5 separate regions of the Homo sapiens genome follow, and all the other regions are linked to region 1. Evidence: promoter capture Hi-C in 16 types of primary human blood cells and fetal thymus (Javierre and others, 2016). All regions are on one chromosome and are shown on one strand. The core of a region is centred on a gene start or on the middle of the fragment in contact, and the rest is flanking DNA. Distances in the headings are between cores, read along the strand shown.

What was found. The method cuts DNA at HindIII sites, captures the fragments that hold promoters and counts their contacts. A CHiCAGO score of 5 or more calls a contact.
Region 2: a contact is called between a fragment that was not itself captured here and the fragment with the promoter of TMEM60 in region 1, in 1 of 17 cell types (neutrophils). The highest score is 5.7, in neutrophils.
Region 3: a contact is called between a fragment that was not itself captured here and the fragment with the promoter of TMEM60 in region 1, in 1 of 17 cell types (neutrophils). The highest score is 5.1, in neutrophils.
Region 4: a fragment that was not itself captured here is called in contact with the fragment with the promoter of TMEM60 in region 1 in 2 of 17 cell types (monocytes and neutrophils); the score reaches 7.4 in monocytes.
Region 5: a fragment that was not itself captured here is called in contact with the fragment with the promoter of TMEM60 in region 1 in 5 of 17 cell types (neutrophils, erythroblasts, total CD4 T cells and 2 more); the score reaches 7.1 in neutrophils.

What each region holds. Positions count from the first base shown.
Region 1 is chr7:77,797,087-77,799,742 of GRCh38, reverse strand. TMEM60 (transmembrane protein 60) reads left to right here and starts at 1,309. Exons shown (of 2, transcript NM_032936.4): 1 at 1,309-1,489. PHTF2 (putative homeodomain transcription factor 2) reads right to left here and starts at 970. Exons shown (of 19, transcript NM_001395272.1): 1 at 772-970. RefSeq lists a silencer at 890-1,029 and an enhancer at 1,440-1,549. The HindIII fragment of the contact is 8,213 bases long and covers 1-2,465 here.
Region 2 is chr7:77,444,509-77,447,164 of GRCh38, reverse strand. No RefSeq gene overlaps it. Among named protein-coding and RNA genes, the nearest start is that of GSAP, 29 kb to the right of the region's middle. The HindIII fragment of the contact is 4,122 bases long and covers 1-2,656 here.
Region 3 is chr7:77,473,336-77,475,991 of GRCh38, reverse strand. No RefSeq gene overlaps it. Among named protein-coding and RNA genes, the nearest start is that of GSAP, 58 kb to the right of the region's middle. The HindIII fragment of the contact is 1,837 bases long and covers 371-2,207 here.
Region 4 is chr7:77,491,516-77,494,171 of GRCh38, reverse strand. No RefSeq gene overlaps it. Among named protein-coding and RNA genes, the nearest start is that of PTPN12, 44 kb to the left of the region's middle. The HindIII fragment of the contact is 6,208 bases long and covers 1-2,656 here.
Region 5 is chr7:77,511,977-77,514,632 of GRCh38, reverse strand. No RefSeq gene overlaps it. Among named protein-coding and RNA genes, the nearest start is that of PTPN12, 24 kb to the left of the region's middle. The HindIII fragment of the contact is 2,366 bases long and covers 146-2,511 here.

The DNA of each region.
Region 1 (2,656 bases), core at 60-2,559:
AGAAGGGTGACAGATTAGTGACAGAATGATCCCTGAAGTTACACAAGGAGGTGCTGAGTTAGAAAGCCATGACTCGAAGGACAATACCAGAATGCTGGCTGTCAACACTGGGCAGATAAAAATAAGAAAAGCTGAAGCATGCTGATGGAGCACGGTATTGTTTCCAGACGGGAACTATCCCTTAAGGCCCATGCCTTAAGCACCCACTCCGCCGTGTTGGGATCAGAAAACTCGACTGCCGCCTGCTCAGAGGGGGCAGGGCAGCGACCCTCCTTCCACCTCCTCCAGCGCGCGAGCCGCCGCCCCCTCCCGAGCCCGCTCCTCCGGCCGCTAGCTGACATCTCCCCGCCAGCCGGGCTAGCCACCCGAGACCCCTGAACGCCCTTCCAGGACCCGACGACCCCTCAGCACAGCGCCAAGGGAAGGAAGCAAAGGACAGGGGCCTGGAAGCGGGGCCCGAGGGGCGGGTGGCGCGCTGGGCTTCGGCCCGTCACCATCAAGACTTGAGGACCGCGCGAGCTCGGGAGGAAGGCGGCTGAGCCTCCGCCACCGGCCGACTGATGAGAAGGGGTCGCGGCTGACCCCGGCCCTCAGGTACGGGAGACTGCCGGGAAAGTCGCCGGCGACGGAGGGCGACGCGTTGGCCCCGGAGCCCCCACCTCCATCCCGACGACCGCTCTCCTCCCTCGTCCCGATCCATCCTCGAAATTCTGTCAGAACTCGACGACCTCCACACTGCCCACCCGAGCGCGGAGGTGATGCCGCTCTTACCGTAGGAGCGAGCGCCGCGCCGCTAGGAGGCGGCTGAGGTGCGCGCGGGAGACTCCGAAGCTAGCGCCGCCGCCAACAGAGCCCAAGGAGCCACAACGAGGCTGCCCGCGGGCGCGCTGCCTCCAGAGGGTTGCCCCACCCCCTCTCCCGCAGGATTTTGCGCCGGAGCCTGCAGTCACTGCGCGCGGGCAGGGAGGATGGGAGGAGGGGCGGGGCGTCCCGAGAGGGCGGAGCTGAGCGCCGGCTGCTCTGATTAACATCTGTGGGCCCAATGGGAGCACGGAAACTCCAGGCTGATCTTGGACTGACTTCCCTACTAACCCGTGACAGTAGAGAGGCGGGACCAATGGGTCTTTTTATTGCCGCCTTTCTGTCGAACCCGAAAGTAAGGAAAGGTCGGTTGGTTTGCACTGGCGGACAAATGGTCCAATTACCGCGGAAAAGGGACCTCTGAATCCAGATTGGCGTCCTCTCTACCTATAGGGTAGGCTCAGGGGCGGTGAGAACCAGCCCCGGATGTGGGCGCGGCACTGAGGTAGAACTGAGAGATCCTCTACCGCAGTCGTTTGAGGAGGCGGAACTGAAGTTTTTTCTTAATTATCATGTGACGGGTTCTGGATTTAATGGGGGGAAAAGGGCGGAAAAGGACAAGGATCCAAACTGGCGAATTTGCTGATCTTCGCGTCCCTCTCCGCTTTCCGGCCGGCAGCGCTGCCAGGTGAGTCTGGGGCTCTGCCCTAGCCCGCACCGTACGCCGGCGCTGGTCTCCTGATGCTTCCGTGGGCTGTGCGGCCGACCCTCAACCCATCACACAGCCAGCCCCAAACGCGCACACGCCTGCTTGGCTCCAGGGCTTCTGTGCGCATCCAGCAGGAACCGTGTTAAACTCCAGCATGTGCTGGGCTTACAGCCCATGAAAGGGGAGCGTCCCGGTGGGGCGCCGCGAGCCGACTGTCGGTGTTTGCAGAAGGGCAAGTATAGTTTAGGAGCGTCCTGAAGTTCCAGGGGCAAATAGGCCCCCAGATGAGCTAAGTTGTAAGCAGAACGCTGTTCCTTTGGCCAAGGCTGTTGCTGCACGGGCTTTTCAAAAGCGACTCATTATGAAGAAGAATAAATATGTGGGCTCATGAAGCAAAATTATCTTTGGGATGAGGCAGGTTCACTTGGTAGACTACTGGCAGTGGCGAGAGAAGGGAAATGGGGGCTGATACCCAGCCGTGGGCTATGTGGGTGGGGCTCTATATATGTCCATACAGGGGTAACTCCGAAGGTTTTAAAAATGAGTAAGGAATCATTAACAAATATTTAACTGTCTTCCTAGTGCCAGAAATAACCACCTTAAATGGGAAACATTTTAGTTGAGCACATTTTTGGAGTACGCACCTCCCCCTTTCTTGTGGAGAGAATAGTAGGAAACATAACGACTGCTCAAATTGATGAAGACGTAAATGTAAAACTGGGATCGTATGTCATCGTTGTAGCTCAGCATACAGGCGTACAATCCTTCAATCGTCATTTAAGTATCAGCAGTGCTTCCCCATTGAGGGTATTTCCGTGCAAGAACATAACAGAATTTTGTTGCATCCCACATTATAAATCTTGTAGGCACAATAAGATTGTTACTTGCATCCTTTCACCTCCAGCCCTAAAGCACCTGTGGTAAGTACAGCCAAATGTAAGAAAAAAATGAAGCTTGTCTTATCCGATAGCAGATGGAACAGTTAGGTTTAAGCAAGTGTATAATCATAAACCGTTTTTCAGAGGTTCACAAAAACGGCCTGATAGATTGGAGGTGGGGATTGTGCAATTTACGGGATGAAATCCATCCATGGTTATTAATCAACACACACCCCTCCAACCCTGCTTCCAAATTCAGTCCCACATC
Region 2 (2,656 bases), core at 62-2,561, 350 kb after region 1:
CAGGGAGAGGGGAGGAAATAAGGTATTTGGAAGATAACCTAGATTGTTACATGATCCTATTTTGAATGCAAGAAGCTGAGTATTTCTTTTGTCTTTGTATTTCTTAAGATATGCTTATTTTCAGCCCTCTCCCCTGAAACGAATAGCATGAAATAACATGTCAAGGAACTTGTTCTCAGAGCAGTAAGAGAAGACCGTATTATTTTCAAAGTATTGGAGGCCAGGCGGTGGCTCATGCCTGTAATTCCAGCTTTTAGGGAGGCAGAAGTGGGAGGAGAGCTTAAGCCCAGGAGTTCGAGACCTGCCTGGGCAATATAGGGTTATCCCGTTCTCCACAAAAAGGAAAAAAAAGTATTGTATTACCCAGTTACACACATACTCACTTTTGCCAGGAGCCTACCTTCAAATTTGATGAGAACGATGAGAAGGACTGGCTGCTGCTCTTATATGCTCCACAGGAAGAAATGGTACTAGGCAACAAAAACAGAATAAAGTCAAGAATGCAGAATATCTATTTCTGGCTGTTTCTGTCCCAGCAACTTCAATGAAATGCAGAGTTTCCTCTGATTATAAAATAGAGATAATATTCTGAATGCAATGTCACATAAAAAGACATTTATTTTTACCCCTTCCTCTGTCTTGAATGGTAATTTATCTTCATTCTCAATGAATATTGGAATTTATATTGCCCAAATAGAAAAGATTGCAGTTTTCACTCATTTAGTGGTAGTATATTTTCTTGGGAGAGAGTTGCCTAGTAAGCAAAAAATGTGTGGGATGTTAAACTTTTTTTTTTTTTTCTGAGATGGAGTCTCACTGTGTCACCCAGGCTGGAGTGCAGTGGTGTTATCTCAGCTCACTGCAAGCTCTGCCTCCCGGGTTCATGCCATTCTCCTGCCTCAGCCTCCCAAGTAGCTGGGACTACAGGCACCCATCACCACGCCCAGCTAATTTTTTGTATTTTTAGTAGAGATGGGGTTTCGCATATTCGCCAGGATGGTCTCGATCTCCTGACCTCATGATCCGCCAGCCTCGGCCTCCCAAAGTGTTGGTATTACAGGCGTGAGCCACTGCGCCTGGCCGGGAAGTTAAGTTTTTATAATTATTTAAAAGAAATAACTTTAAGTATGCTACATTAACATGGTTGTAAATTGGAAGTTGTCATTTTTCCGAATGGGGAGCTTACAGAGAAAGAGACATGACTCTTGCTTCCATTTAATCCATTCTCCACGTCCGGCCTTTTGAAAGATGGTTTTAAGAGTGTAAATGGCATCACTCCCTCTTTTTGGGATCCCCATCGCATTTATTAGAACCTACAGTTTCCTTAACACGTTCTCCAAAGCTCTGTAGAGTCTGCTCCTGCCTTTTCCCCCAACATCATCTTGGGCTTCTCCCCTTTGCTCAGATTGGCTTTCTTTCAACTCTTTTTTTTTTTTTTTTTTTTTTTTGAGATGAAGTTTCGCTCTTGTTGCCCAGGCTGGAGTGCAATGGCGCGATCTCCGCTCAGTGCACCTCCACCTCCTGGGTTCAAGAGATTCTCGTGCCTCAGCCTCCCGAGTAGCTGGGATCACAGGCATGCGCTACCACGCCCAGCTAATTTTTGTATTTTTGGTAGAGACAGGGTTTCTCCATGTTGGTCAGGCTGGTCTTGGACTCCCGACCTCAGGTGATCCGCCCGCCTTGGCCTCCTAAAGTGCTGGGATTACAGGCATGAGCCACCGTGCCGGGCCTTTCAACTCTTGAAGGAACGACATGCTTTCCCAGTCCAAGGCTTTGGGAAACGTTCCTTTGTCAGGAACGTCTTTTCCCTTACCCTTCCTGAGGTTAATTCTCACTTACTCTTAATTTCTCAGCTAAATGTCTCCTCAGAAAAGCCTGCTATGATTTTAGGAGTCTCTCTTGTTGACCCTTTCCCTTCATTATCAGTTGTCATAATTTCTAATTATGTATTAATTTGGTGCTTATTTTTATCTAGATTAGATAATAAATCCTATAACATTAGAGATCATGTCCATTTTGTTTACTTCCCTGTACCTAGTGCCTAGCATAGTGCTTGACACATAGTAAATGCTCAACAAACATTTAATGATTAGATTACCAAATATCATACAGCAAAATGGACACTGGTTTGAAATATAAATGATAATCTATCCTGTAATTTTAACATTACAATTTATCGAATTAGAGTGTTCACAAATGAGTTGTATTCCAAAATTTGCAAACTGGTTATTTGACAGTCAGATTATATTTCTCCATAGAAAAAACTGTCATTGTTGGTTCAGGCCTGCACCTGCTAAATGTAACAATTTTTAGATCTTGTGCAAGCTCACCTCCATCCAAATATTGGCAACGTTAGACCTCAGTTTCCAGGTCAGGATTCCTAGTTTTCAGCCTCCACATAATTTTTGAGGCTTTTGTTTTTGTGAGTTTAAGATAGAAACCTTAGATAGTTTTGTGAGTTTAAGACAGAAATAGCGTTTTTGTGAGTTTAAGATAAAAAGGCGATTTTTAGTTTCTTCTCTTTCAATGTATTTTTGGTTATCGGACTTTTTGTATGAGGAGAGAGAAATACTGCTGTAAAGTTGTGCTCAGCGTAAGGGGTAGCCTTCAGTAGCTGGGAGAAGGGACAGCTTTCACTTGCAGTATGGAAGGAGAT
Region 3 (2,656 bases), core at 40-2,539, 320 kb after region 1:
ACAGGAAATAATTTCAACATATATACTTTTATTGTGATAATTAAGATAATTGATAAAAAGACTTTTAGGAATAAAAATATCATACTAGGATACAATTTTTTGGTGGAAGCAGAATAGAAATATGAGTTCAAGGAGGAAAAGGAAAAATACAAAATTTCTGATTATTAAAGAACAGCTTGTTCATGTATTTTTTAAAAAGGGATGATGTGGTATTTAGATTATATTAGATATATTTTTAAAGTGCTATAATATTTTTATTTTAAAATGACAATATTTACAGAACATTGGAAGTTACATCCTTTGCAACTATTTTAACATGGGATGAAGAATTTTAGATGTCAGCTTAAAAATGTGCAAGAGGACACAAGCTTTACAAAATTCTTTTAGAAGTGTTTGCAAGTAAAAAGTTGGAAGATCATGTTTTAGGAAACCCAGTCCAGAGATTGGTGTGTAGAATGGACTAGAATGGGGAAGAATGGGGATAAATTGGGCAAGGTACCAGTTAGGAGACAATTGATTTTTTCCAGACTTAAGGAATTTCAACTGTATTAAGTTCATCAGCATGGAAATGAAGAGAAACAGACTAAAAGCAAACACTACTAGGAAAGAAGAATTATTAGTGTCCATCCCTGCTTCATTTCATTTTAGGTTTTAAATACCATCAAAACTGAGTTTCCTGTTTTCTGCCTGTAGACTCTGCCCTGACCTAATCTTGAACTTCTTTCCTTCCTTGCTTCCTTCTTTCCTTCTTCACCCCCACAACACTCCAACTATTCATCAGACATTCTGTGAACTACTGGGGCCCCTAAAATGGTAAACAATAGGTCCCTGGCTTCTGATAACTTTCATTCTAGTGGAGAAACTTATAGCTGACTAGATGCCTAGAGAGATATCATATATGGCCTATACAACTCTACCCCTCTTTCCTTTGTAGCGTGCTACAGGACAGAGAGTTGCAGCCTTCATTTCTCAGACTCTGTCAGATTCCATATGTGACCCAGCCTCTGCCAAACAAACGTATGAGTATGATATTTGGACAAGAGAAGTGGTACAAGGGTGACATTGTCAGAGTTGTTTGAACCAGAGTGACTCCATCTTGAAGAGAGGCTGGGTAAAATAAGGCTGAGACCTACAGGGCTGCATTCCCAGGAGGTTAGGCATTCTTTTTTTTTTTTTTTTTTTTTTGAAATGGAGTCTTGCTCTTGTCGCCAGGCTGAAGTGCTTTCTGATCAGTCCTCGGTTTTCTGAGGATGGCACAAGAAATAGCTACCTTGGTAGGCACTTCTGGCAATTATTCTTGGAAGCTCAGCCTGGAGCCTGTTTCCCCAGCCTTTCCAGTAATTTTGAAAGCTCCTAGTTCATTATATTAAATCTCTATAAGTTTAAAGTAGCTAAAGTGGTTTCTTTTATTGGCAACCAAATCCTGGCTGATACAGATGAAACCCTCAATGATTCCTTCTAGCGCCCTGCTTCCTGTATTGTTCCCTAAGTCTCTTTCTTGTCTAAGAGAGCTGGGATCCAACCAGCCAGTGATAACCCTGGAATGCCGCATCGTTACCTGAGTTGCTACTATTCCTCCCCTGTGTGCTTTAATGCTCAGAACTAGGCTCTGGCATGACTTGTTCTGATTGGTCCAACTTTTGGGGAACTAGAGTCTCTCCTGCCCTACCCTGGTGAAGGCTATTCACAAACAGATGTAAATGTGAGCTTAGAAGTACTGACCCCAGCTAGTCGTGGTGGCTCACACCTGTAATCCCAGCACTTAGGGAGGCTGAGGCGGGTGGGATCACCTAAGGTCAGGAGTTTGAGACCGGCCTGGCCAACATGATGAACCCTTGTCTCTACAAAAAATAAAAAATTAGCCGGGTGTGGTGACACGTGCCTGTAGTCCCAGCTACTTGGGAGGTTGAGGCAGAAGAATCACTTGAACCTGGGAGGCGAAGGTTGCAGTGAGCCGAGATCATGCCACTGCACTCCAGCCTGGGCGACAGAAAAAAAAAAAAAGAAGAAGGGCTGACCCCTTACCTACCAATTTTCTGCTTCTATGTTTCATCCACCTGCTTGGGACATGAGGGCTTCCCCTCGAATCTTTGTTGTGCCCTTTGGACAGGGTGCCTTACTGACCTTGCTGCTCCTCCACATGTGTCTCTCTATAACTGGGTCATTTCCTGTAGAGTACTGCTTCCCTTTAGTTGGCCTTAAAAGCTTCCTGGGAATCTAATTTAAAATGTCAGTTCCCCAACCCAATGCTGATTGAGTAGGTTTGAAGTGTGGTGGGAAGTCTGCATTTTTAACAAGAGCCACAAGGCATTCTGACCCACAAGGACCTTGGTCTACACCTTGACAACTCTCTGATGTCAGTGTCTAGCCCATGTTAGTGGGTAGAACAGACAGCAGGTCCTAATTCCTTCCCTCTTCTCTGTACTGTGAGAATGGGAAAAGAGAGAGGTTAAAGATAGCCGCTAGGTTGTAAACTCGCCTGACGGGGATTATGACTTTAGCACTAGCTCACACAGGGAAATTAAGAAGTGAAACCAATCTGTGGAGTAAGATAACGAGTTCCATTTGAGACACGTTGGATTTGATATCCAAGTGAAGTTGTTACATTGTTGGTAGCTAGTAATAGATTTGATGACTCAGGTCTGGAAGTTGATTA
Region 4 (2,656 bases), core at 49-2,548, 310 kb after region 1:
GTAGGGTCAACACCACATGGAAGCTGCCAAGGCTTGGGGCTTGCACCCTCTGAAGCCATGACCTGAGCTCTACATTGCTCCCTTTCTGCCACGGCTGGAGCAGCTGGGACACAGGGCACAAAGTCCCTAGGCTGCACACAGCATGGGGACCCTGGGCCCAGCCTATGAAACCACTTTTTCCTCCTAGATCTCCAGGCCTGTGATGGGAGGGGCTGCCACGAAGACGTCTGACATGCCCCGGAGACATTTTCCCCATTGTCTTGGGGAATAACATTCAGCTCCTTGTTACTTATGCAAATTTCTGCAGCTGGCTTGAATTTCTCCTCAGAAAATAGGATTTTCTTTTCTTTCATATTGTCAGGCTGCAAATTTTCTCAACGTTTATGCTCTGCTTCCCTTATAAAACTAAATGCCTTTAACAGCACTCAAGTCACCTCTTGAATGCTTTGCTGCTTTGAAATTTCTTCTGCCACATACCCTAAATCATCTCTCTTGAGTTCAAAGTTCCACAAATCTCTAGGGCAGGGGCAAAATGCTGCCAGTCTCTTTGCCAAAACATAACAAAAGTCACCTTTGCTCCAGTACCCAACAAATTCTTCACCTCCATCTGAGACCACCTCAGTCTGGATTTTATTGTCCATGTCATTATCAGCATTTTGGTCAAAGCCATTCAACAAGTCTCTAGGGAGTTCAAAACTTTCCCACATTTTCCTGTCTTCTTCTGAGCCCTCCAAACTTTTCCAACCTCTGCCTATTACCCAGTTCCAAAGTTGCTTCCACATTTTCAGGTATCTTTTCAGCAGCACCCCAGTCTACTGGTACCAACTTACCTTATTAGTCCATTTTCATGCTGCTGATAAAGATATACCCGAGACTGGGCAATTTACAAAAGAAAGAGGCTTATTGGACTTAGAGTTCCAGATGGCTGGGGATGCCTCACAATCATGGTGGAAGGCAAGGAGGAGCAAGTCACATCTTAAGTGGATGGCAGCAGGCAAAGAGAAAACTTGTGCAGGCAAAGTCCCATTTTTAAAGCCATCAGATCTTGTGAGACTTATTCACTATCACGAGAACAGCATGGGAAAGACCTGCCCCCATGATTCAATTACTTCCCACCGGGTTCCTCCTGCAACACATTGGAATTGTGGGAGTTACAATACAAGATGAGATTTGGGTGGGGGCACAGTCAAACCATATCAGCTGCCATATGTATTATGACAACTGTGGTAAATTTTATGGAGAAAATTAAAACATGGTAGTGAAAATGAGAATTTTGTGGGATAGCTTAGGTTACCATTTCAGTAGAATGACTCTTCCTGCAGAGATTCTAATAGACAGCTTGAGCGTTCCATGAAGTCTCTTCTTTAATTTGTCTCTTTGTTTTAGCACTTTAAAACATTATTATTTTGTTTTGAAAACATAAATTACTTTGGGGCAGGTTTTTTTTTTTTTTTACTATTTATTCAGATATCTATTGAGAAAGATTTTTTGTGAAGTGTAGTACTCACTTGTATGTTTTCTAAATTATTATTTAAAATTATTTCTGTAACTAGCAAGCTGTATTTGGAGTGAATGCATGTTTGACTAGTATCCATCCATGCTTGTCAGATAGAAGGAACTGCACAGCATTCATTGTAAGATGCAACAGGAATAAACGCAGTTTGTAAAGTTATAGGGATGAATTATAGTCGCATTTTCCCTAACTGCTCATCTCAAAATTAGTCACACAGGTTATTCCCTTAAACACACATCCTAACTCCAAAATAATTGGTCACAATAATTGGTCACAAAATGATCTTTCCTTTTTTTTTTTGAATGCTTGTTCATAATGAGATCTTCAAAGGGAAATACCATGTTCATCTTTATTGTCATTGTTTTCATATTATAGTTGTTCAGTAAATATTTGTTGTCTAAATTAAAAAAAGAAAACTATATGAGTCTAGTTTGGGAAGAACATTTTATATTGTTAATAATACAAACAATTAAAATAATGATAGGCAAGGGATTTAAAATATCCAGAAAAAGGCCGGGCACGGTGGCTCACGCCTGTATTCCCAGCACTTCGAGAGGCCGAGGAAGGCTGATCACAAGGTCAGGAGATCAAGACCATCCTGGCCAACATGGTGTAACCCCATCTCTACTAAAAATACAAAAATTAGCTGGGTCTGGTGGTGTGTGCCTGTAATCCCAGCTACTTGGGAGGCTGAGGCAGGAGAATTACTTAAACCAGGGGGTCGGAGGTTGCAGTGAGCTGAGATCGCGCCACTGCACTCCAGCCTGGTGACAGAGCGAGACTCCATCCCCCCAAAAAAATTCAGAAAAAGTTTCAGACTCTCATAAAATGTATCTGGCTATTTAAACCAGCCATTTGTATTTCTGATAAAAGCAGGTGCTTCTGGTCAAGTTCATATGTATTTATTTTGAACATTGGCTTTGGGAACCCAGACAGCTAACTCTATAGTCCATAGTTTTATACATGCCAGGTAGTGCATGTGGATCTAACTCCATAGTCCATAGTTTTGTACATGCCAGGTAGTTTTGATCATAATGGGTAATAAAAGATGAAAAATAAAATGTTGAAATGCAAGACCTATATTTAACCCCAAAGCATAAACCTAACAATTTTCTCAACTCCTGTCCCTTGTTTTTGTGGTAA
Region 5 (2,656 bases), core at 79-2,578, 290 kb after region 1:
AGGGGAAAATGAAGGGAGAAAAAATGTGAATATCTCAAAATACCATCCTACCAGAATTATCAATATGTGATGAGTGCTTACTGTGTGCCAGATACTATACCAAATGCTTTACATATTTTTTCTCATTAAGTACTATTATCAAGCTTATTTTACAAACAAGATGATCAGATTTAGAGAGATTAAGTAAGTTGCCTGAAGTTTCACTGTTTCTAGATGGTAATGCTGAAATTCTACCAGGAATCTCTGACTCCCAGCTCCAACTTTTGACCATTAGCATGCAAGTTCTTTCCATGTGGTTGGGGAGGGAAGAAGGTTGGTCTAAGGGTGCTTTCCTTTGGCTTCATTTCTTCACATAAATGAGGATGCCAATCATACCTAAGACTTGTCTGTCATTAATACATTTCTGACAGTGGCTTCCACTTGGCAACACTTTGTAGGCGAGTGGACCTACTCTGTACACTTGAAATGTTGAAAACTGCACTTCTTCTAAAATACTGTTTGGATCAATCATTTCATTTAGTTAAGCAGGCCATCTGTCTATCCAGCATGTTTTCCAAGTGCCTGTGCGTAGGTACCACGTAAAATGCTGGGGACATCAAGATGAATTCAACACTCACCATGAGCTATGTGTGTGGTGTTTAGATGAAACAGACATAAAAGCTAATTACAGCAGTGAGATAAGTTGTATATCTAAACAGCATATGAATATGTGTTCTGGAATGCAGAAGAAAAGTACTAATTTCAGCTTAGGTATATCAAGGAAAACTTCTCAGAGGTAATAAGCCTTCAAGAATGAGTAGAAATTCACCAGTAGGACATTCTGGACAGAGGAAGAGGCATGGGCAAAAATGCTTGGCAATTTCAGAGAGGAGCACACAACTGAGAATAATTGGAGAGGATGATGTATGTTTATAGGAGCCAGATAATGAAGATACTTGTTCTACTATGCTAACAAGTTAAAATAATTAAAACTCTCACCCCACAGGAGGAATCTTGCCCACAAATATTCTTTGTTTGATGTAGGTTTTTTTTTCTTGAATTTGAATGTCTTTAAAAAGACGTACATTCTCTAGTCTTCTGTCTCCTCAGGCTCACCCCTCCATATTTAGGTTACCTAGCTATCCCTGCAGACATTTGAGCTTACTCCCCCTGCTGCAGCAATGGGGAGTCACGGAAGATTATCTTTGTTTATAGGAGCCAGATAATGAAGATACTTGTTCTACTATGCTAACAAGTTAAAATAATTAAAACTCTCACCCCACAGGAGGAATCTTGCCCACAAATATTCTTTGTTTGATGTAGGTTTTTTTTTCTTGAATTTGAATGTCTTTAAAAAGACGTACATTCTCTAGTCTTCTGTCTCCTCAGGCTCACCCCTCCATATTTAGGTTACCTAGCTATCCCTGCAGACATTTGAGCTTACTCCCCCTGCTGCAGCAATGGGGAGTCATGGAAGATTATCTTAAGGTGGAGTTAACATGAACGTATTTGCTCTTTCAGAGACCATTCTGGCTTACTGTGGAGGATAAATGGTGAGGCCAATTGGGAAGGGATGGTACAAGATATAGAAATGTCTTAGCTCGGGCTGCCTTAACCAAATGCCATAGCCTGGGTGGCTTAAACTCAGACATTTATTTTTCATTATTCTGGAAGCTGGAAAGTCCAAGATCAAGGCACAAGCAGATTCAATTCTTGGTGAGGGCTTTCTTCCTGGCTTGTAGATGGCCACCTTCTTACTGTATCCTTAAAGAGAGAAGGAGCTCTGGTTTCCCTTCCTCTTCTTATAAGGGCACTAATCCTATCATGGGGCCTCCACCCTCATGACTTCATCTAAACCTAATTACTTGCCAAAGGCCCCACCTCCTCATACCATCACAATGGGGGTTGGAGTTTCAGCATATGAATTTTGAGGGGAATACAAACATTCAAGCTATAAAAAGCGACTTACTGGGTGAAGAGGCTGAGAGGGAGGACTCATGATTCTCAGTTTCCCACTGAATGAACGGTGGTTCCATTAACTCCAAATGGATAGCACAAGAGGTTTTATTCTATATGTTTATATGAAGTTGTAAAATTTCTTAGGAAGGATTGTGGAGCAATTGCTAAAATCCACTTAATGTCTATTGGAAGTACCTAGATGAAGTTCACCAGGAGACCTTTCAAAAGTGTCTCAAATGTTCCTATAAATATTGTGACATATTTATGTCATAAATCAGGATACATGGTAGGACATGTTGGGCATTAATAACAGACATAATATTTAAAATGGGAACTGTTCTGAAAAATCAGGAGTGTATGGTCACTGGATATAAAAATTACTTTGTTGTCTCATCTAGGTTCTCTTTTATCAAAGGTCCCTCTGAATAAAAATACTATCGTTAGAATGTACATGTTTAAATAAACACGTCTCAAGTACAGCTAATCGATCTATGGGTATTTCCTCATTTTCATCTTCAATAATAATTTCAAACTCCCTACCATACTTTTCTACAGAGCTATTAATAGGAAGCTTCCATCAGCTAACTTGAGTTTCCTCTCATTTTCCCAGCTGACATTCACTGGAGGTATTAATGGGAAATATAATGTCTAAAAGACATAGGTAGTCTTCAAATTGGATACTCAGGCACTGAATAATCTTAACTTCATGAAAATCAGC